Regions from separate parts of the Homo sapiens genome. Here regions 2, 3, 4 and 5 are each linked to region 1. Evidence: promoter capture Hi-C in 16 types of primary human blood cells and fetal thymus (Javierre and others, 2016). All regions are on one chromosome and are shown on one strand. The core of a region is centred on a gene start or on the middle of the fragment in contact, and the rest is flanking DNA. Distances in the headings are between cores, read along the strand shown.

Region 1 (3,892 bases), core at 507-3,006:
GCATAAATGGGGTCTGCAAGGAGCACAGACGTCTCTAGCCCTCCCAGCCCTCTGCAGATGAGACACAGACCCCAAGTCCAGGGACTTCCAGGGCTGAGCTCTCAACCCCCTTGGCTGCCAAAAGCTGGGGGGCCTTGTACACAGCATTCACCTCTGTGGGCCTCAGTTCCTCCTTCTGTGATCTGGAAGAGAACAGTGGCTCTGAGTTTTTCTGAGGTCACTGGCCCTTTTGAGAATTATGTAAGCAACGGGTCCTCTCCCAGAAGCATTCCTGTGAGGTGACCACGGTGCCCGTGACTACGGATGGCTCTGGGGCTCTAGCCCGACAGCTGGGCTGTATCAGCCCCTTAGGTCCTCACCTCGACCCCATGCGCTAGGTCCTTTGATTAAGTCCTTTTACACATGGGGAAACTGAGGCACAGAGGGGTTAAATAATTTGTCCGAGGTCACACAGCCGGTAAATGGCGGAGCCAGGTTTGGACCCAAGCATGCTGACCCAGGCTTGCATTCCGAACCACTCGGCTGCTGACCCCAGGCATCTGACTCTGGAATTAATAAGCAAGTTTTATGATGAGGCGGGGAACTCCACGCCATCTGTGCACTAAGGGTGATTCACCAGTGACTTCTGGGTGTTATAGATCAGGAAACACAATTGGGGAATGGACAGGACAAGCTCTGTCATGGACTCTGTGTGGCCTTGGACAAGTGATCTTGCCTTTCTAGCCTCAGTTTCCCCCCTGAGAAGAAGACAGAACTGGCCCCTACCCTGTAGATGGGTTGGAGGAGCACTTGAGATTGGAAAACGCATAATAGGTGTTCATTAAAGAGGCTCACATGGATACACACAAGAACAATCTCAGGGCCTTCACGCACCTAAATGTTCTGCCCCTAGTGTGGGCAAGGGAAACAAACTGGAAGAAGACAAGAAAAGCCACTGAGAGCTGGGGACGGTGCCTCTGTAGCACCTGTGAGTCCCCGAGGAGGAAGTACTACAGGAACCAGCGGGGCCGGGCGTGGGGGCTTGCGGCTGGAATCCCAGCACTGTGGGAGGCCAAGGCAGGCAGATCGCTTGAGCCCAGGAGTTTGAGACCAGCCTGGGCAACACGATGAAACCCCATCTCTACAGAAAATACAAAAATTAGCCGGGCATGGTGGTCTAGGCCTGTGGTCCCAGCTACTAGGGAGGCTGAGAGGTGGGAGGATCGCTGGAGTCCGGAAGGTCGAGGCTGCCGTGAGCCGTGATCACGCCACTGCACTCCAGCCTGGATGACAGAAACCCTGTCTCAAAAACAAACAAAAACACAGAAACCAGATAACCAGCCCCAGCCCCTCACATCATCAGAGTGATGCCACGCCCTGGCATCCCCCTCCACGTGGTGCATGCTCTTTTTTTTATTTTTATTTTCTTCAGTTCTCTGATGCTGATTCAGAAAATAAAAATGTAGAGGTCCAGGTGGGCTGTGCCTGGAACGGGGAAGGTGAGGGAAGTCCTCTGTCTCAAAGGCCTCTTCGGAGGACGCTCTGGTCTTGCCAAGTTTACAGCTCCTCCCTGTCAACATCAAGTCAGGTCCCCAACTCTGTCTTGCTCATCCACCTGGCTTCCACTTTTTTTTTCTTTCAAAAGACGAACAGAGAAGTTTCATTTTCTTTTTCTCCTGAAACCGAATCTGGCCGGCCTGGCTAGGCATCTATTTCCGGGCTGTAAGCAGCTGACACCTGCCCAGTGGAAGCTGGCATCCCTCCCCTTGTGGGTTCAGAGCTGCAAGAAGCACCAGGCTCGGCCACTTCAGAAGCCCCAGCCTCGACCTAGCCCACCCTCTCAGGGCCACAGTGCAGAAGCCTGCACACCTGCCAAGTCTCTCCGACTCCTTGCAGCTGCTGTCAGCATGGCCCAGGCTCCTGCTGACCCGGGCAGAGAAGGTACAGTACTTCTTCCTTCCAAGGACCAGCGGTAGCTCCCGGGGTGAGATTTCTACTTCTCTTTCCTCCTGTTTCGCTTGGTCCAGATCATGATGACAATAGCAGTATCCTAAAGAATAGTAGACCAGCTGGGCGTGGTGGCTCACGCCTGTAATCCCAGCACTTTGGGAGGCGAGGTAGGTGGACTGTTTAAGCTCAGGAGTTTGACACTAGCCTGGCCAACATGGCGAAACCCCATCTCTACTAAAATTACAAAAATTAACCGGGCATGGTGGCGCATGCCTGTGATCCCAGCTACTCGGGATGCTGAGGCTGGAGAATCGCTTGAACCCGGGAGGTGGAAGTTGTAGTGAGCTGAGATGTCGCCATTGCACTCCAGACTGGGTGACAGAGTGAGATTCCATCTCAGAAAAAAAAAAAAAAAATAGAAAGGGACAGCATAGCCATCCCCCTTTGACAGCTGACTGTGCCCCAGGCACCTCGAAACATGCTTTCCAAGCATTTCCTGATGGCCTGCAGGGACAAGTGCCATGTCATTCCCATTTTATAGATAACTGAGGCCCTGAGAGGTGAAATGACACTCTCAGGGTAACACAGCTGGCGAACGCTGGTGTTAGCGTCTGAACACCCATGTCACAGTCATATCGAGAACAAAGCGGTTTGCTTTGATGAGATACATGTGTGCCTTTGTTCCCCCTTGTTGCATCCTTTCCTCAACTAACATTTCATTCATTTTATTCCTGGAAGAGTTGCAATGAAAGCCAATAGTGTATCGAGTAATTGCTGTTCTCTAGGGTCTCCACTAAGCGCTGTGGACTGTAGGTGAAGTGTGGTTTTGCGGTTTGGGGGATGTGTTTGTTTTGTTTTTAATCCTCACCACAATCTTTGAAGTAGTTATTACTGTCTCCATTTCACAGAAGAGGAACCTGAAGCCGGAGGGGAGGTCACACAGCTAGTAGTTGGCAGGGCTAGGAGCTCAAACCCAGGAAATCAGCCATCAGAATTTTAAAAAACCAACACAGAGTGTGCCCCGGGAGGGCTAATGTCAGGGTGTGGCCCAGGAGCCGGGCTGACCGCGGAGGTCCTGTGGAGCTTCCTCTTCGGGGACTCACGGGTGCTGACGCAGGTTCCGGACTCAGCCCTCGCTGGCTTTTCTTGTCTTCCTCCCCAGTTGATTTTCCTTTTGTGACCAAATTGTTGCCTACACCTGCTCCATTTTACAATTTCCCATTTTCAGACACAGTAGCCTGGGACTCAGCAGTCGAGGCCAGCCCAGGGCCAGTGCTTGTCCTGCATCCACACCTCTGACCCCCATCTCCTCTGGGGTGTGTGGAGCCGAGGCAGTGGCTCCCTAAGGTCAGCCTTCCAGAATCAAAACTGCGGCCAGGCGCAGTGGCTCACGCCTGCAATCCCAGCACTTTGGGAGGCTGAGTTGCGGGGATCACCCAAGGTCAGGAGTTTGACACCAGCCTGGCCAAAAAGGGAAACCCTGTCTCTACTAAAAATACAAAAATCAGCCGGGTGTAGTGGTGCGTGCCTGTAATCTCAGCTACTTGAGAGACTGAGGCAAGAGAATTGCTTGAACCCAGGAGGTGGAGGTTGCAGTGAGCCGAGATCACACCACTGCAGCCGCAGACCAGGCAACAAGAACGAAATTCCATCTCAAAACCAAAAAACAAAAAACTCTGCGAGACAAGGTGAAGCCAGGTGTGAAGTCAGGTGCATGGAGGTGCTGCTGGCTGCCGGTGGGGGAGTTTGGTGGGCGCAGGAGTGGGAATTCCCAGGTCTTCTAATTGGTCTTCACCTGCACACGGCAAGCCGGTCAGCGTTGTAACCATCAGGGTGAGGCACAAACTGATTCTTCCCTCCCCTACAAGTGCTGTGACCAAGGAACCCTGGGCAAACCTGGAGAATCCTCTGAACAGGAAAGAAAGCCCAGATGACAAAGGACTGAGTCACTGTCCTGGAAGGG
Region 2 (3,892 bases), core at 969-3,468, 770 kb before region 1:
CCTTCTTTGAGCCTTCTTCTACTCGACCTTTATAACTGAGCTCAAATGACACCTCTTTCAGGAGTTGACCTCCTCAATGCTCCTGGAGCACTCTGGACTACCCTACATCATTGTCCTGTCCTGGCTGTTATTCTCATCTGCCCCCTTCCCTAAAGTACTGGGAGGAGGTTGAGGGAAAATAGGAGAGTACAGCTGATATAACTTGGCTTCTCTGGGTATCTGACACACAGATCAGGTACTCAGTAAATGTTTGTGGACTAACCGAATGAACCCACCAATTATCAGGAGAAGCCAAGCCAGGCCTCCCAGATAGAGAAAGAACTTCAGACAACTCAAGTGGAAACTAAGGCTCACTATTTTCACTTTAGCTACCTGGACTTCTTTCCCAATCTGGCATCCCCAGAAGGCCATGAGAACATCATGAAAGCTCAAGTACTATCCTGGAATTACAATCCACGGTAGGTTTGGTGGGGTTTTTCGGTTTTTTCATTTTAATTGGAAAGCCTTTGGTTCTCTGTAAATTCAGAGTTATTTCACATTGTTAACTTGGAAGGCAAAGTGACAGCCACCGTTCTGGAGTATTTCCCAGCGATCAGACAGCAAAACGGTTAAGAGCGTGAACTCTGAAGTCTGGGTTCAAATGTACCATTTGCCAACTGGGTAACTTTGGGTAAGTTACCCTACACTACTTCCCAATAGGACATATAAACTGGAGAGCCTCTGGCCATTCATTCATTCATAAATACCAACTGAGCATCTACTGTGAGTCCGGTGCTAGCGATATAGTGGAGACCCGGCCTTCCAATCTAAAGTACGCTTCCATGGAGTCAGACTGTTCCATTTCCTACACAGCACTTAGCACTATCTGCAATGATCTTGTGTGTTGGTTTGTCTGTCCTCGTCGGAAGGTAAGCTCTGTGAGAGCAGAGGCCTTATCTGTCTTGTGCATCCATCACCTCCCCAGAGCCTCCCACATCACTGGATACACGCAAAAAGAAAGAATGAGCATGTCAGACAAGAACTTTTACCTCGTGGCCCTGGTGAAGGTAGGAAAAAAAAAAAAAAAACAAAAGTAACAACATAGAAAACATAAAGGCACAAATTACAGAGGTAATAGTATCTGGGAGAAACCAGGGTCATGGCTTCCCATCGCCGCAGGTGTTGCTCCAGACAGCTCTGCGGAGAAAAAGGATCCCAGCACCGTGGCAGCCTCCTTGCACCGCAACCAGGAGACAGCATGAGGGACGCAGTGAAAGGAAAATGGGCCCAATCCCATCAGAAGTCCTGAGGAGGTTCATTTGTTGGTTCAACATGTTCATCTGTTGGTTCAACAGGTATTTATTTACTAGGCGTATAATGTGTGCTGGGTACACAGCAGCGAACTGACAAGAGCCTGTCCTCATGCAGTTTCCCTTCTAGTATTGAAACAGTGATTTTGGGTATGAAAAGTGCCGTGCTGACCACGAAACAGTGACGGAATAGGGAATGACAGCAGGTGTGCACGGTGGCTGGGTGGTCACAGCAGGCCTCTCTGAGCAGCTGACACCTCAACTAAGCCCTGAGGTCAACACTGTCACGGAGCAGGGGAAGAAACTTCTAGGCAAAGGCAGCGGCGGAGGCTCACACTAGAGAGGATCACAAACTGGTAAGTTACAAAGTGACAAGTGCCTCGAAGGCAAGTCCCAGGAGGCTGGGGGTCGGGGAGGAGGCGCAGGCCCCGGCTCCCGCACCAGCCCTCTCGGGTCCCGGCCACTCCGGGCAGTTCTGGGGAGCGCGGCGAGCGCCAAGGCCCGGCCCGGCCTCGCCGCCCCCCGCGACAGCGCCGTCGGGGTGGGGACGAGGGCCGACGTCACCCGCCGCGCCGGGCTCCGTCCTTCCAGCACTGGGGCGGAGGCCGCGGGCAGGAAGGTGGCGGCCTCTGGGGCTTACCTCGGAATTTGAGCTCGTGCTGCGGCTCGAGGCTCAGGACCTGCTCCACCTTCGCCATGTTCCTTAGCGGCGGAGCACCTTTGGCGGGGAGACCCCTGAGAGGTCACCGGGGCGGGAAGCGTTAATGCTGCGCCCGCTTTAAGTTTTACAAAAAGGCGGGGACCGGTCGGGGCACGGGCGGGGGTCCTCTACCGGGTGGGCGCGCTGGGGGGGGGTCGGTCTACGCGGTGCAGGCGCAGGGGCGGAGGGCGAGGGCGAGGCCGCGGTGCCCGGCGAGCTGACGGCACGCACGCACGCACGCACGCACGCAGAGTCGTACACACGCACGCACGCAGCAGGCTGGCCCGCTCTGGCGGCGGGAAGCTGCGCCCTGCGCCGCCGGCTCCAGGGGCGGGGACTAAAGCTGCGCGCGTAGAGCCCCTTCCGGGACAGTGCGCAGGCGCGGCACAAGCCACGGGGGCGGGACTGCGGGGCAGTAAGGGGCGGGGCTTCGGGCCGCTCAGGAGGCGGGGTCTGTAGTCCAGCTACGACAGCCACCGCGGAAACTATTAAGGGCCCGCTGGGGGCCAGCTTCGTGTTAAGTGCTTTATTCAATAATAACAATTAGAATAAACTTCCACTTTTCTCTTGCTTATGTAGTGCCAGGCACTGTTAGAGACTTTGAATAATAGTGAAAGTACTTAGTATAAGTATAATGTTTATGGGTGAGTGATATGGGCTAGGCACTGTGACGTCTTGTAAATAATAATTATAAATATAATAAACTACCAATTATTGCTTATTTATTTTGTATCACTCTACTGAATGCTTCCAATAACAACAGCAACTACAATAAATACAAGCTACTCTACGTTAAATGTTTACTATGCAACTGGCACTGTGCTGAATTCTTTACTAGTAAATTCTATTTGTTTATGCAACAAATATTTAGAAATACAATGATCAGAAAAGCGAACCTGATTCCAATCCTTTTACTATAGCCTAGTGAAGAGACATCTTTTGAATAAATAACCACACACGTAAGTTAAATAATTAAAAATTGCTGGAGAATCCAGATCTGCTTGACCTCAAAAGTGGATACTCTACATCATGATTACCGTTTAAATTGTATTTCATTATATTATGTTTACTATGGAAGTTAAATAGGTGTTCTTAATAGTCTCCTATACATACCCATATAGGTGAGACAAATGTGGCAAATTGCTAGCAATGGCTGACTCTACATCGCAGGTATATGGTTTTCTTGTACTGTTTCTCCCACTTTGCTGTATACTTGAAATTTTTCATGATAAAAAGGTTTTTTAAAAGAATAGTCTTTGTATTTTAACTGGAGCATTTAGTCCATTTACATTTATTATATTTACTGATATATCTGGAATTATTTCTACCATTGTATTTTGTTATTTCTATTTGTCCTGCCTGGTTTTTTTCCCCTTTCCTTTCTTCTTTAGGGTTTATTTTTATTCTCATTCTGATTTTCTTCACCTGTATACTCTATTTCTAAGTTTTAGTGGTTACTTCAAACTTTTGGGCATGCATACTTACCTTGTGAAAGTCCAATATCTTTAAATATTTGTAAAAATGTCTTTACCCTGTTTCCTTAAAATATAAAGACTTTGGAGTACTTTAATCACCCATCCTCTAAATTATACACCTTAATGTAGTGTATGTTAAGTTTAACCTTTGCCACTGTAACCCCAAGAGACATTACTAAATTGTTTTATTCAGTCAACATTAGTTTAGATTCAGCCACACAATTACCATTTTTATCCACCTTTTCTTCTTGCATCTCAGCTTTCACCAACAGGATCACTCTCCTTTTGCCTGAGGTAAATCCTTTAAATTTTATTTTTTTGTAGCTTCGTTGGTGCAAATCCTCTCAGTTTCTGCTCATCTGCAAATGGATTCATTTTTGCCTTTTGTTGTTTTTATTTTATTTATTTATTTATTTGGAGATGAGGTC
Region 3 (3,892 bases), core at 756-3,255, 690 kb before region 1:
TTAAAGCCTATAAAACACAACTTCTTATGTAGTCAAAGGATTAGTATTGCAAAATGAAAAGTTTTCTTATAGCGTCAAAAACATATGAACAATCAACTTTACTTATCCATAGAACCAGAGAACTGAAAAAACCTTCCATTTCAATATGAATTTATTAATTTATTATTACTACCAGTACAGGAATGTGTAAGGGTTCAGATCTCAACCTACTACTTTCAGGAAGGACAAAAACCATTTAAATGTCTTTTACTTGATATGCCTGAAAGAATAGCACCAGGATCTATTTTCATCTGCCTTATTTCAAGGTGTAATTGCTGTTGATATTTATAGACCGAAGCTTCTGTGTCTGTTCTAATAATTAGTAGAACTCCAATTCATATTTGCATTTTGAAGTTCTCACCCCCAACAAGTCCGAAGATAATTTTCCTAAAATACACAGATCCTCACTGGACTCTTTCAAGTCCTTCCAGAGATGATGCGAACCAGCGACTCAGAATTCAATGACTACAAAGCGCAGGGCCTACACCTGTAACACACTATGTATTTGGAAGGATTTTCAATGCACCTTTAGATGTGTATCAAATAAAAGTCTCTTACCCTATTGTTGGGTTGATGTTTGGATCAAAACTGTCTTCCACAAACCGCCACACAATACTCGATTTACCTACACCTGTATCCTGAAAGAGAACGAGATGAGGGACTGAGAAAAAGTTTACCTTTTGGCAGACACCAAAAACTACTTTGTGGCATAAGTTCAGGATTTTAGAAAAATCACCCTAGACGTGTAAATTTTATAAACGGAGGAACACAAAAGCGGTTGTCATAAAAATTCAGTAGAGTAATTAGGAAATTCCAACTGTACTAAAAGGGAGAGGTTTTTGCCGTTAAGACAGATTAGGACCTTTTGAGAGACCCAAAGTTTCTGCTTCGTGTAAAAAGTAACAAGTCCACTTGCTTTTTAACATATGTTAGTAAACTTTGAACTCCTGAGTTACCTCTGAGTAATCCCTGATGAATCCTAGCCCCACCCTATTTGGGGGAATAAAGATTAGTTATTGGAGTTCCTGCCGATCTTTAAGGCAGAAACTCTGGAATGACAGCATCAATTTCAGAAAGAAGGCTTTGAAATGGCCAACACCTTGTCTTTCCTGACAAGACAGGAAGCTGAAGCTTCAAACTAGTCTTTGGGGCTTCCTGATTTGAACACCCCTTTTCTCCACAGGAAGAGTTACTTGGCAAAGTAACTCTTTGGACAAGTGGCAGGGGTATCCCACAAGTTCAAAAACACCCAAGAGACAAAGTAGGCTAATGCTGCTTGTAAAACCTAAAGACCTGTTATTGGTTTTACTTTGGAAGACTTGGCCAACTCCCAACTAATACCTTGGTAAGTTGGGAGAAAACTATTTAAGAACCTCTCTTAACCCAGATGCAATAGAGAGGCAAGGGGGGGCTGTTTGCTCTTTGTGGGGCGGGAAGAGTCCACGGGCTCCAGGGAGGGGAAGGGGAAGGGTCCCTTCGGCCTCCAGGACCTTTTCGAGAGTGCAAGAGGTGGGCGGGACGGCTCCCGAGCTGGAGGGAGGGTCCACGGGGCTGGCAGACAGCGTCTTGGACGTGGGAGGGGGGAAGGGATGAGGGGACAGGGGGGATCCGGGGTCCCCGCCAGCCCAGCCTCCCGTGGCCCTCCCGGCCGGACCCGCCGCCACTCACCCCGAGCAGACACACTTTGAGCTCCCTCAGCGCCATGGCCCGGGAGCCAGGGGCGCGGGCCCGCCGCCGCCCTAAGTTGAGAAGGGAGAGGCCAGGCCCAGCAAGAGCATCCCCTGGCGCCGCTGCCGCCGCACGGCCCAGCCCCGGTCCGCGCAGAGGCGGCTGCCGCCCGTCCTCCGGCCGTAGGTCCGGCCTGTCCGCTGCCAGCCGCGTGGGGCCCGCCTTAGCAGCCGGGACGCCGCCGCGGCCTTCCGGGAGCCGCCGCCGCCGCCATCTTGGGACGCCGGCCGCGTCACCTGACCTCCCCGCCCACCTCGGCAGCCACCTTCGCTGAGAGGGCGGGGCCGGCCGGCCGGCGCGGATCGGGGGCGGGGCCCGAAGCCGACGGCCCCGCCCCTGTCTGCAGGGCCCCGCCCCTGTCTGCAGGGCCCCGCCCCTGTCTGCAGGGCCCCGCCCCTGTCTGCAGGGCCCCGCCCCTGTCTGCAGGGCCCCGCCCCTGTCTGCAGGGCCCCGCCCCTGTCTGCAGGGCCCCGCCCCTGTCTGCAGGGCCCCGCCCCTGCCGGTCCCGCCTCCATGCCCATCCCAAGATGGCGGGTGAGTGGGGCTGGGCTCGGGGGATGCCAGGGGTGCCCCTCTCTCTCTCGCCCCGTGACCACCCCGCGAGGCCGAGGGGCCCCTGCCCGACCCCGTCCCCTCTCGCCGCAGCCCCCTGGTAACTTCTTGTGTGTTTCTTGGTTTTCAGAGATCCCCCTGTACTTTGTGGACTTGCAGGATGACTTAGACGACTGTAAGTAAGAGTTGGGGCACCCCTGTCCCTCCCTGGGACCCTCTCAAAGAATTCAGAGTGCACGAAGCGCGGGGCGGGGGAACCTCAAGCCAGGCACTCCTTGTCGGGACCAGAACAGCGGGACCCCCAACTGCCTAGATCCACTGGTGGCGGTCCCTCCTCCCTGGGCGGGGCGGGCTGAGGGTGGGAGCCCTTCCCTTCCCTCGGGGGAAGGATTTTTGTTGTTGGGGAAACTTTGGACTCCCTGTCACTTCTTTTCTTCCTGCGCCTGCAGCTGCCGTGGGATGGGCGGAGGGGGTAGTCCCAAGTCCTAGTCGACCCTGGGCGGGCGGGGGGTCCGCCACCTGGGAGGTGGGTGACTTCCCTCTCAGGGCCTTGCCCTTTTCCTAGGGACTTTTTAGGACTGCTGGGGGGTTTGGGAGGTCCCCCTCTCGGTGTGGCCGGTCACGGAGTTGCACGGACTTCTCAAGTGTCCTGGCCACAAGCCCGGCTCCATCTCTTATCCCATGGAGCCCATTGGCCCCCGCATTTCTTGGGTGGGACCCTTGTCCCTTCTTGCCCTCTTTTTTGGAATCATGTTAAGGGCTGGTAGCTGGGGGAGGTGTCATCTTAGAAATCCAAGTTCGCATTTCTGGTGAAGGAAGGAAGCGTTTTCTCTCCTGTCAAGAAACTTACTGAGCAGCTATTTGCTCTGGGGGCCACGTGTTGGGCTCCGAACCTGCAAGGATGTGTTGAAAACAGCTCTACACGCAGGGAGCTCACAGGGTGTGGGGAGAGCCTACTTGTAAACAGAAAATTACCGAGCACCGGAGTGCTTGCTGGTGAAGAAGCCCTATATAAATCATCCAAATAGCTAACATTAATTGGGGGCGTACTGTACGCCAGTCATATACAGTACTTCCTCTCATCTTTCATTCCACATCTTCAGGTTTCCTAATAGTAAGAGTTGGTGTTTACTGAAAACTTACCATGGACCAGACAGCGTTAAACTCTTTTTTTTTTTTTTTTTTTTTTGAGACGTAGTCTTGCTCTGTAGCCCAGGCTGGAGTACAGTGGCACGATCTCGGCTCACTGCAAGCTCCACCTCCTGGGTTCACGCCATTTTCCTGCCTCAGCCTCCCAAGTAGCTGGGACTATAGGCGCCCGCCACCACTCCCGGCTAATTTTTTGTATTTTTAGTAGAGAAGGGGTTTCACTCTGTTAGCCAGGATGGTCTCGATCTCCTGACCTCGTGATCCGCCCACCTCGGCCTCCCAAAGTGTTGGGATTACTGGCGTGAGCCACCACGCCCGGCCCAGTCTTAAACTCTTTACACACATTAACTCAGAAGGCGCAGTTTCGGCTGGGTGCGGTGGCTCAGGCCTGTAATCCCCGCACTTTGGGAGGCAGAGACGGGCA
Region 4 (3,892 bases), core at 580-3,079, 610 kb before region 1:
GCCCACAGTCCACTCCTTTCCTATACAGGTCTGTGTCCACCACTACACCTCACCTTAGCCAGTGGCTTTGGAAGGAAGGCAGGATGAAGAATTGGGCAGTGGGTTAGGGCAGAGACTTTAACCTCTTTAGAGTAAATGTGTAGAGTTCGTATCATCCTGTCCAGCTCCTCAGATCGCCCTCTCTACTCAGCCTCTTGGAAATGAGGGTGTGATTTATGTTTGCCTAGGAGCAATGGCAGTGATAATGGCTGCCATTTCTTGAATACCTCTTGTGTGCCAGGTATCACATCACACATTTAATTCTCTAATAAAAAGTAATGTGTCATGGCGGGCACCTTTAATCCCAGCTACTTGGGAGGCTGAGGCAGGAGAATCGCTTGAACTCGGGAGGCGGAGGTTGCAGTGAGCTGAGATTGCATCACTGCACTTCAGCCTGGGCAACAGAGTGAGACTCCATCTCAGGGAAGAAAAAAAAAAACCAAGAGGTAATGTGTATTGAGCATGGCATACCCATTTACCTTTAGACCAGCTCTTTTAGGTGAAACATTTGAAGCCCAGAGAGGTTAGGTCACTTGTTCAAGATCACACAGGAAGTGTAAGCCGATGATTTTTTTTTTTCTGCTAAAGTATTGTTTTAAACATTTTAACTTTCATTACACACGTTTTCAAGCATATACAAAGGTAGAGGGATTGCTGTAATGAACCTCTGTGAACCCACCACCCAGCTTTGTTGATAGTACAGTGAAGCCGTGGTTGGGACCGTACCTGACCCCAGACCGCAAAGCCCCCTTTCTCTCCCTGATGACCACGGGCACCAGAGGACTCACCAGCGCCCCCTCTTGGACCAGTGGGACATTACAGGAGTGCTTTGGCAGCCCACTCTGAGAAGGGCAGTGGATGGCAGAGTGAACAACAAACTCACAGACTCACAAACTCACAGACGGCACAGACTTTTGTGAAGGAAGAGTCAATGTTCCAAATCAATTTGTGGAGAAAGCTTAAAGGAAATAGTTTTTGCTTTTATTTTTAAATTCTTTATCTGAGATTTAGAAAGTCTGAAATAAACAAAAGGACTCTTGGGACTGCGGGGGAAGGGTGGGAGGGGGTGAGGGGTAAAAGGCTACACATTGGGTGCCATGTACACTGCTTAAAGGAGCCTAGGAATATGTGCCTGCCTTCTAGTGTTGTCATGGGCTTCCGTGGGCTGATAAAGCTGAGCTACCCAGCATGGCGCCTGGCACCTAGGGAACACCAGCAGCCACCGCCACAGCACCCATCCACCACGACACCAATTACCCGGGCATAGAAGAGCCACAGGAGTTAGAACCCACACTTCGGCTCACAGTCCCCACCCTGCTGCCACAGGAGTTAGAACCTACACTTGGGCTCGCAGACCCCCCCGCTGCCACTGGTGGTTATGAGACCTTTGGGTGTCACCACCACATTGGAAATGAGTTTTTTTTTAACCTGTAAAACTAGGCTGATTTTGAATTCCAGGGCTAGTCCTGAGAATTAAGTGAGAGAATACATGTAAAGTCGTGTAACTGGAGAAGTTATATGCACTTGCTGGGTATGACTACAGGACTGGCATTTACGGATTGTTTATAGAGGTCTGGGCATTGGGTTATGGTTTGGGATTTGACTGTCACTTGACAGCCACGGCCGCTGTGAATGACAGAAATGAGGTTCTTGACCCTTCCTTACCGGTCAGCTGTATGCAGTGTGGTGGTATTGTCCTAGATGTTTTGCATAACAGACCTGTCATCATACAGATGAGGAAACTGAGGCTCAGAAAGGCTAAGCCGCTTAACCAGAAGTCACATAGCTACTAAGACCAAGTTAGGTTTTGAATCTAGACTTCTGACTCCTAAGCTCACCAGATCTTAACCTACTTGGAACCCACTGCTTGGTAGTGAATTATAATAAAATATTAACTGTGTTTCTAACCAAATCAGTGCTTGAGATTTAAAAATTCATACACACGCCTCAAACCTACAGATTCTGAAATGACTTCTTTGGGATTAAAGAAGTGTATGTTTCTAGAAGACTGCGGAAAACATCATTTCTTTGGCTGTGACTTTCTTGGAGCAGGCAGTGGTGAGCAAGGAGTGTGTCCCCGTGGACCAGTTCATGGAGCACCTGCTTCCCAGCCTCCTGAGCCTCGCATCAGATCCTGTGCCCAACGTGAGGGTTCTGCTAGCCAAGGCCCTAAGGCAGATGCTGTTGGAAAAGGGTAGGTGGAGCACTTTTCAGAACTTACACATTTCGGGTAGACTCCACCAGTTGTTAAAGGCCACAACTAGATTTCCTCTAGGAAACTGAGGCAGGTTGTGTGACAGCACGCGTAAGGTTTATTATGTAAATGATTATGTTAACTTTGATGCATCATTTTATGTTATTTATAAAACGACCAAGGAAATGAATGTAATTTGGTCTTCATACTTAATAAACATATGCTAAAATGTAAATTATTACATAGCTTTCCAGAAATGAGGGAAATTGATAAATTTTGAGTTATGACATGAAAGATTATGAAAGGTAGCAAACGTAAGCCTTAACTGCTATTATGTTTTAATGGTATTATTTTGTGGTCAGTTAGAAAAGATTTGTAACCCAACTAGTGGATTATTTACACCTGGACAGGACTCAATAAAAGCTTTGTGTTTCTTGGATAGTTTATTTCTACACCACACATATAGGAAAATATCTTGAACTCTGCCCTACATGTACATTTCTTGCCACCTCACCCCCTGCCCCACCCTACCTACAACCTGCTCCTGCTCTGCACATTGCCATTTCTTTTGTATTGCAGGGAAAAAAGATAGTTACTATAATTTTAAAAATATGCATAACTGTTGGGAGTCCATCTTTAACATTTTAGAAATACTCTTTGATTTATTGTCCTGACATGTGGCTAACAAAAAACAAAACCGAGTGTGTTTTGAACACTGTTCATGGCTTACCTGATTCAGACTCATGGTTTCTCTCTTTAGCGTATTTTAGAAATGCTGGTAACCCTCATCTTGAAGTCATTGAAGAGACCATCTTAGCATTGCAGTCAGACCGGGACCAAGATGTTTCCTTTTTTGCAGCCCTAGAACCAAAGCGGCGGAATATCATAGACACTGCTGTACTAGAAAAACAGAATTAACTACTTCCGTGATGAGTTGCAATCTGATTATTTCATGCTTGGCACATATGGCTTACCATAACTTGAAGGGGAACTGATTGTATTATACCAGCTGGGGGAGATTTTGGAACCTTTCATACTGTGCACTCAGTGATTGACGCCTTTTCCATCTGTACCCCGAAGGGACTGAACCTGATGGGGGCTTTTTCTGGATGGCTGGGCCATCCTGATCAAGCCTGATCAGTAAGTCTGTGGAAAGATTGCAGACCAGGTGGCTAACTGGGCACTGGAGCCTCTGAACCATCAGGCTGTCTGCCAGCAAGTTCTTTTCTCCATGGCAGACTGTATGATCTGAAGTCCCCCCAACCCTCTCCAAGTAAAGTAGTTTATTAGAAGCTCTTAAGTCTTTAATAGACCTGCATATTTCCTTCCCTTATGATTTCCTATAAAATATAGTTTATGGTGTTATATTTTTAACTGAAATACTGTACATATGTAAATAACTCTTGACAGGAAGAAAATATATTAATGTAGTATTTGCCCCCTATCAGTGAGCTGAACAAATACATCATTTAAATCTATGCTGCACTTTGAGTTGCTACAAATATGGTTCGATTTGTTTATTTTTGAAAAATGTGATAAAGAAATCTAAAGAATGATTGATGGCAGTCTTTCTAATATTGTGCCTTTGTTATAAACTACTTGGAACTTTTCCTCAGGCACTCACTCCTCCCTGCCTGACAGGAACTGTTTCCATGAAGA
Region 5 (3,892 bases), core at 542-3,041, 570 kb before region 1:
TGTTCCAAGCCTAGGCCTTAAGGAGCCGCCCACATTTCCACTCCTCCTGTTGTGGTTTTGCCATTGCCATGAGAAGAACCCGCCCCAGCTCTTCCGCTAGTCCAAGGAGGAGGTTGAGAGGCACACGGAGCTGACTGCCCTAGCCAGCCTCACTGTGAGCAGCTGACCCTCAGTGACCCATAAGTGCACAAACTACAGATGTGCTTGCAGTTGTCTGCCACCGAGACCCTGCAGTTTGTTAGGCAGCATGAGATGGCAGTAGCTGACTGATACAATGACCCAAGGAAGGGAGCACAACAAGGAGAGAAAAGGGCCTGCAATGGAGTCCAGAGAACTCCAGGATTTTAAGCAAAAGCAATTGAGAATTGGCCATTTCCAAGCCTAACTTAGGAAGCAGTTCAGCAGTACACAAAGAAGGAGTCCAGGAGGGTTCTTTGGAGGAAGGGGCCGTTACTGGATGGGAAGAATCTGGCCAGGTAGAGATGGGAAGGGAGGGGCTCCAGGTATGTGTGTAGCATGCCTGGAGCGTGGAGAGGGGCTGGCTCTGCACACTGCACTGGGACTAAGTTCTTTCCCCTCTGGACTTGTCCCCGAGGTGGGGACGCATCTCTGCTTCTGCTCTGCTTAGAGGACAGGGTGCTCACAGACTCAGGTAGGGTGCTCGAGGGCCCCCAGGCCAGCAAAGGAATCTAATTCCTGGCTTTGTGTCTGACTGTAACCCAGCAGAGGCTAGTGGCCTGGTGGTGGGAGGCCCAGTCTCTGAAATTCAGAGCCTGGCTGGGAACCCTGTCCCACGTCTCACAGGAGCAGGGTGTGTCCGCAGACAGTGACTGGGCTAGGACATGCCTTGCTTTTCCTTGCCATACCCCCTTCCTCTGGGGACATCTTGGGCAGACTCCGAGGTCTCCAGTCACACTCAGTTGTGAAGACATCTATGTGACTGGAACTCAAAACGTAAAGCTCACGTCCAGCTCACAGCTTCTGGGAGAGGGTCCCCAGACCAGGCCAACTGGATGCCAGGGTCCTGCCATTGGGATGATGGCCTGTCTTCCACCCTCCTTGCTCTGCTACCTTCTCCGCCTGTGCTCCTGGTCTGGCAGGGTCAGGGCTGGACAGGGGTGAGAAGGAGCGGGGCCAAGGTCTTTTCATGTGGCTGGCGGCATGTGTGGCTCTCCTTCGGCTGTTGAGCGCCTTCTGCCCCCTCGGGCATGGAATGCTGTTCCTGCATGGGGAACACTCATGGGGTTTCTTTGAACCCCCACTCCCAACCTCATTCCTTTCTAGGTCCAGTTTTATTCCCCCTCTGCAAGGAAGAATTATGAATGTCACTGATGGGACCTGCACTTTGCACTTTTTGCACCAACCTTTGGGTACAAATAGGGCCACATTGATAGCCTAGATGTCACCCAGTCTTGTCCTGGTCATTTACTTTCCCGGGATCCCAGAAAAGCCCCCATGTCCTCTCCACCCCAGGCATTTCTAGCGGGGGTCACACAAGTGCTCATAAATGGGTCTGTTGGCCACCACTGCCCTCTGCTGGTGTCCCTGGGCACTGCTGCAGCGGCCCCATCCCTGGGTTGCAGGTGAGGGGTGAACAAGACCCCAACTTCCCCGTGATGCTGTCAGGGTCTCCAGCAGGGCCGACTGCTGACTCTTACAGATTGCTTAGGAAGGGTGCCATTTCCCATGTGACCTGCTCTCTTGGATACAGACATGACTTTTTCCTCATTAATGATGAGGGTGACTTCTAGCGCCATGACCAGCTTGGAGCTAAAACCTTCACTCACATCCATCTTCACTGAGTGCTCACACACCTGTGAGGGGGACCGCCATCTCCACACTTTACAGGAAGAGACCCTGAGGCTCACGGGAGCTCAGGGGAGCTAGAATTTGAATCCGATTTGTCCAATGCATCCAGATATGGCTGAATCGTGGTTGGGTGCCAGGGTGTGTTTCTGCATGTGTCTCTGTGCATATCTCCGTGTGTTAATGCATGCATGCATGTGAGTCTGGGTGCATGCATGTCTGTGTGTGCCGGGATGTGCTTCTGGGCATGTGTGCGTGTTTATGTGTGCATGTGTCTGCGTGCGCGTGTGCATATCCTCTTTCACCCACAGAGTGGTATCAGTGAAGACTTTTGAACTCAAAAAAGAAAATCCTACAAAGCAAAACTGAGGAATGAAGGAGCTGTTGTAGGATCTCATGGTCACTTTCTGGGCGAAGGTCCCCTGAGTTCTGCAGTTGGGATTGGGATCCTCTTTGCACACTCCCCTGAAGACCCCAGCTTCTCCTTTGTGGCACCTGTCACTCCTGTCTCTGACTGACACTCTGTGCAATTATTTGTCTAGTGACTGTGACCTCTGCTCGGTTCTGCTGGCTGTGGATCAGGGACTGTGTCTTTCTTGTCCGAGTGAGTGAATGACTGACAGAAATTCTCTGTATCACTCAGGACATCTCTGGGTGTAACTGACAGAAAATCAGCTCAAACTGGCTTAAGTGCAAAGAGGGCATTGCTGGCTCAAGACACTGAAAAGTTCATGGTCCCCTGGGTTTAGGGGCTCCAGGGAGTCAGATGATAGAATCAGGTTGTTCTCTCTCTTTCTCTCTTATCTCCACTGTCTCTGCATTTATCTGTGTCTTCCTCTTTTCCTGCAGACAGGTCCTTCCATGTGTCAGGGAACAATGGAGGCAGGAGCTCTAGCTTATGTGGTCTTCATAGCTTAAGACCCCAGAGAGAAGGAGAAAGTCTCTCCTGGCATCAAATCTCAGCGAAGTCCCTGATTAGCCAGTTTGGGTCACATGCACATCTTAGAACCAATCCCTGTGGCTCTGTAGGATGGAGGGTTTTTTTTTTTTTTTTTTTTTTTTTTGAGACGGAGTCTCGCTCTGTCTCCCAGGCTGGAGTGCAGTGGTGCGATCTCGGCTCACTGCAAGCTCCGCCTCCCGGGTTCACGCCATTCTCCTGCCTCAGCCTCCCGTGTAGCTGGGACTACAGTCGCCCGCCACCTCGCCCGGCGAATTTTTTATATTTTTAGTACAGACGGGGTTTCACCGTGTTAGCCAGGATGGTCTCGATCTCCTGACCTCGCGATCCGCCCGCCTCGGCCTCCCAAAGTGCTGGGATTACAGGCGTGAGCCACCGCGCCCGGCCAGGATGGAGGATTCTAACTGACCAGACTGGTTCTTGGCACGTGCATGTGTTGGGGGTGGAGTCCTATGACTGACACATGATTGCAGGAGTGGGGCTGACTGGAGTTGGAAAGGTGGTTTTCTGAAGGAAAGTATTGAGCAGAAAGCATGTGTATTTCTTCTCATTACATTATTTTAGAATTAAAAAGGCAACAACATCTTTTTCTTTTCCTAGATTGACCTAGTTTGGAAACCAAATTTAATGTGTAGCTTTTATCTAACTTTGAGAACATTTGGTAGTATATGGAACTTGAAACAAAGCAAAATAAACAAAAAGGTAGAATTTGACAGTAATTTTGTAGTCACTGCATTTTAGCTTTTAGCTGTCCATGCACTAAATGAGTATATGTCATTAAATCAAAGTGTGGCCCCCACATGGGCTTTCTCTGCCATTAAGACCTGAGAGGTTCCTGGAACACATTACCCCACATATCGTTTTCGGGAGAGTAAATGGACAAGATCCTTTTCTCAGTGGGCTGGGGAATGAGAAAGGTATGACTGGTCATTAAAAGCCTTAGTCCAAGGATTTTTTTTTTCCATTAACACAAATGAAATTGTCCTGAAAGCCAAGTTATTATCTCTGGAAGGTGAGGAGTTTCAAGTAGGTGTTGGTGAAGAGGTGTGAGTTTTAGCACCTAAGGTGGGAACTTTGCTAGGAGTCTAGGGGGACGGGGACTTGCTGCCCGTGGACACCTGTGGTTCC

Evidence for each region. The method cuts DNA at HindIII sites, captures the fragments that hold promoters and counts their contacts. A CHiCAGO score of 5 or more calls a contact.
Region 2: the fragment with the promoter of VAPB here is called in contact with the fragment with the promoter of ZBP1 in region 1 in 9 of 17 cell types (neutrophils, total CD4 T cells, M0 macrophages and 6 more); the score reaches 17.5 in neutrophils.
Region 3: a contact is called between the fragment with the promoter of RAB22A here and the fragment with the promoter of ZBP1 in region 1, in 2 of 17 cell types (neutrophils and activated CD4 T cells). The highest score is 7.0, in neutrophils.
Region 4: a fragment that was not itself captured here is called in contact with the fragment with the promoter of ZBP1 in region 1 in 3 of 17 cell types (naive CD4 T cells, monocytes and total CD8 T cells); the score reaches 5.7 in naive CD4 T cells.
Region 5: a fragment that was not itself captured here is called in contact with the fragment with the promoter of ZBP1 in region 1 in 2 of 17 cell types (endothelial precursors and M0 macrophages); the score reaches 10.6 in endothelial precursors.

Annotation. Positions count from the first base shown.
Region 1 is chr20:57,618,290-57,622,181 of GRCh38, reverse strand. ZBP1 (Z-DNA binding protein 1) reads left to right here and starts at 1,756. Exons shown (of 8, transcript NM_030776.3): 1 at 1,756-1,920. The coding sequence starts at 1,887. RefSeq lists enhancers at 1,507-1,796, 1,927-1,976, 3,057-3,166, 3,344-3,892. The HindIII fragment of the contact is 9,795 bases long and covers 1-3,892 here.
Region 2 is chr20:58,387,555-58,391,446 of GRCh38, reverse strand. It overlaps VAPB (VAMP associated protein B and C), which reads right to left and starts at 2,218. Exons shown (of 6, transcript NM_004738.5): 1 at 1,930-2,218. The coding sequence starts at 1,987. RefSeq lists silencers at 1,690-1,809, 2,070-2,509. The HindIII fragment of the contact is 12,509 bases long and covers 1-3,892 here.
Region 3 is chr20:58,307,828-58,311,719 of GRCh38, reverse strand. It overlaps RAB22A (RAB22A, member RAS oncogene family), which reads right to left and starts at 2,005. Exons shown (of 7, transcript NM_020673.3): 1 at 1,708-2,005; 2 at 598-677. The coding sequence starts at 1,743. It also overlaps the pseudogene PPP4R1L. RefSeq lists silencers at 1,607-1,936, 1,977-2,536. The HindIII fragment of the contact is 7,008 bases long and covers 1,173-3,892 here.
Region 4 is chr20:58,231,029-58,234,920 of GRCh38, reverse strand. It overlaps the pseudogene PPP4R1L. Among named protein-coding and RNA genes, the nearest start is that of ANKRD60, 4.3 kb to the right of the region's middle. The HindIII fragment of the contact is 1,659 bases long and covers 1,000-2,658 here.
Region 5 is chr20:58,190,420-58,194,311 of GRCh38, reverse strand. No RefSeq gene overlaps it. Among named protein-coding and RNA genes, the nearest start is that of ANKRD60, 36 kb to the left of the region's middle. The HindIII fragment of the contact is 5,377 bases long and covers 1-3,892 here.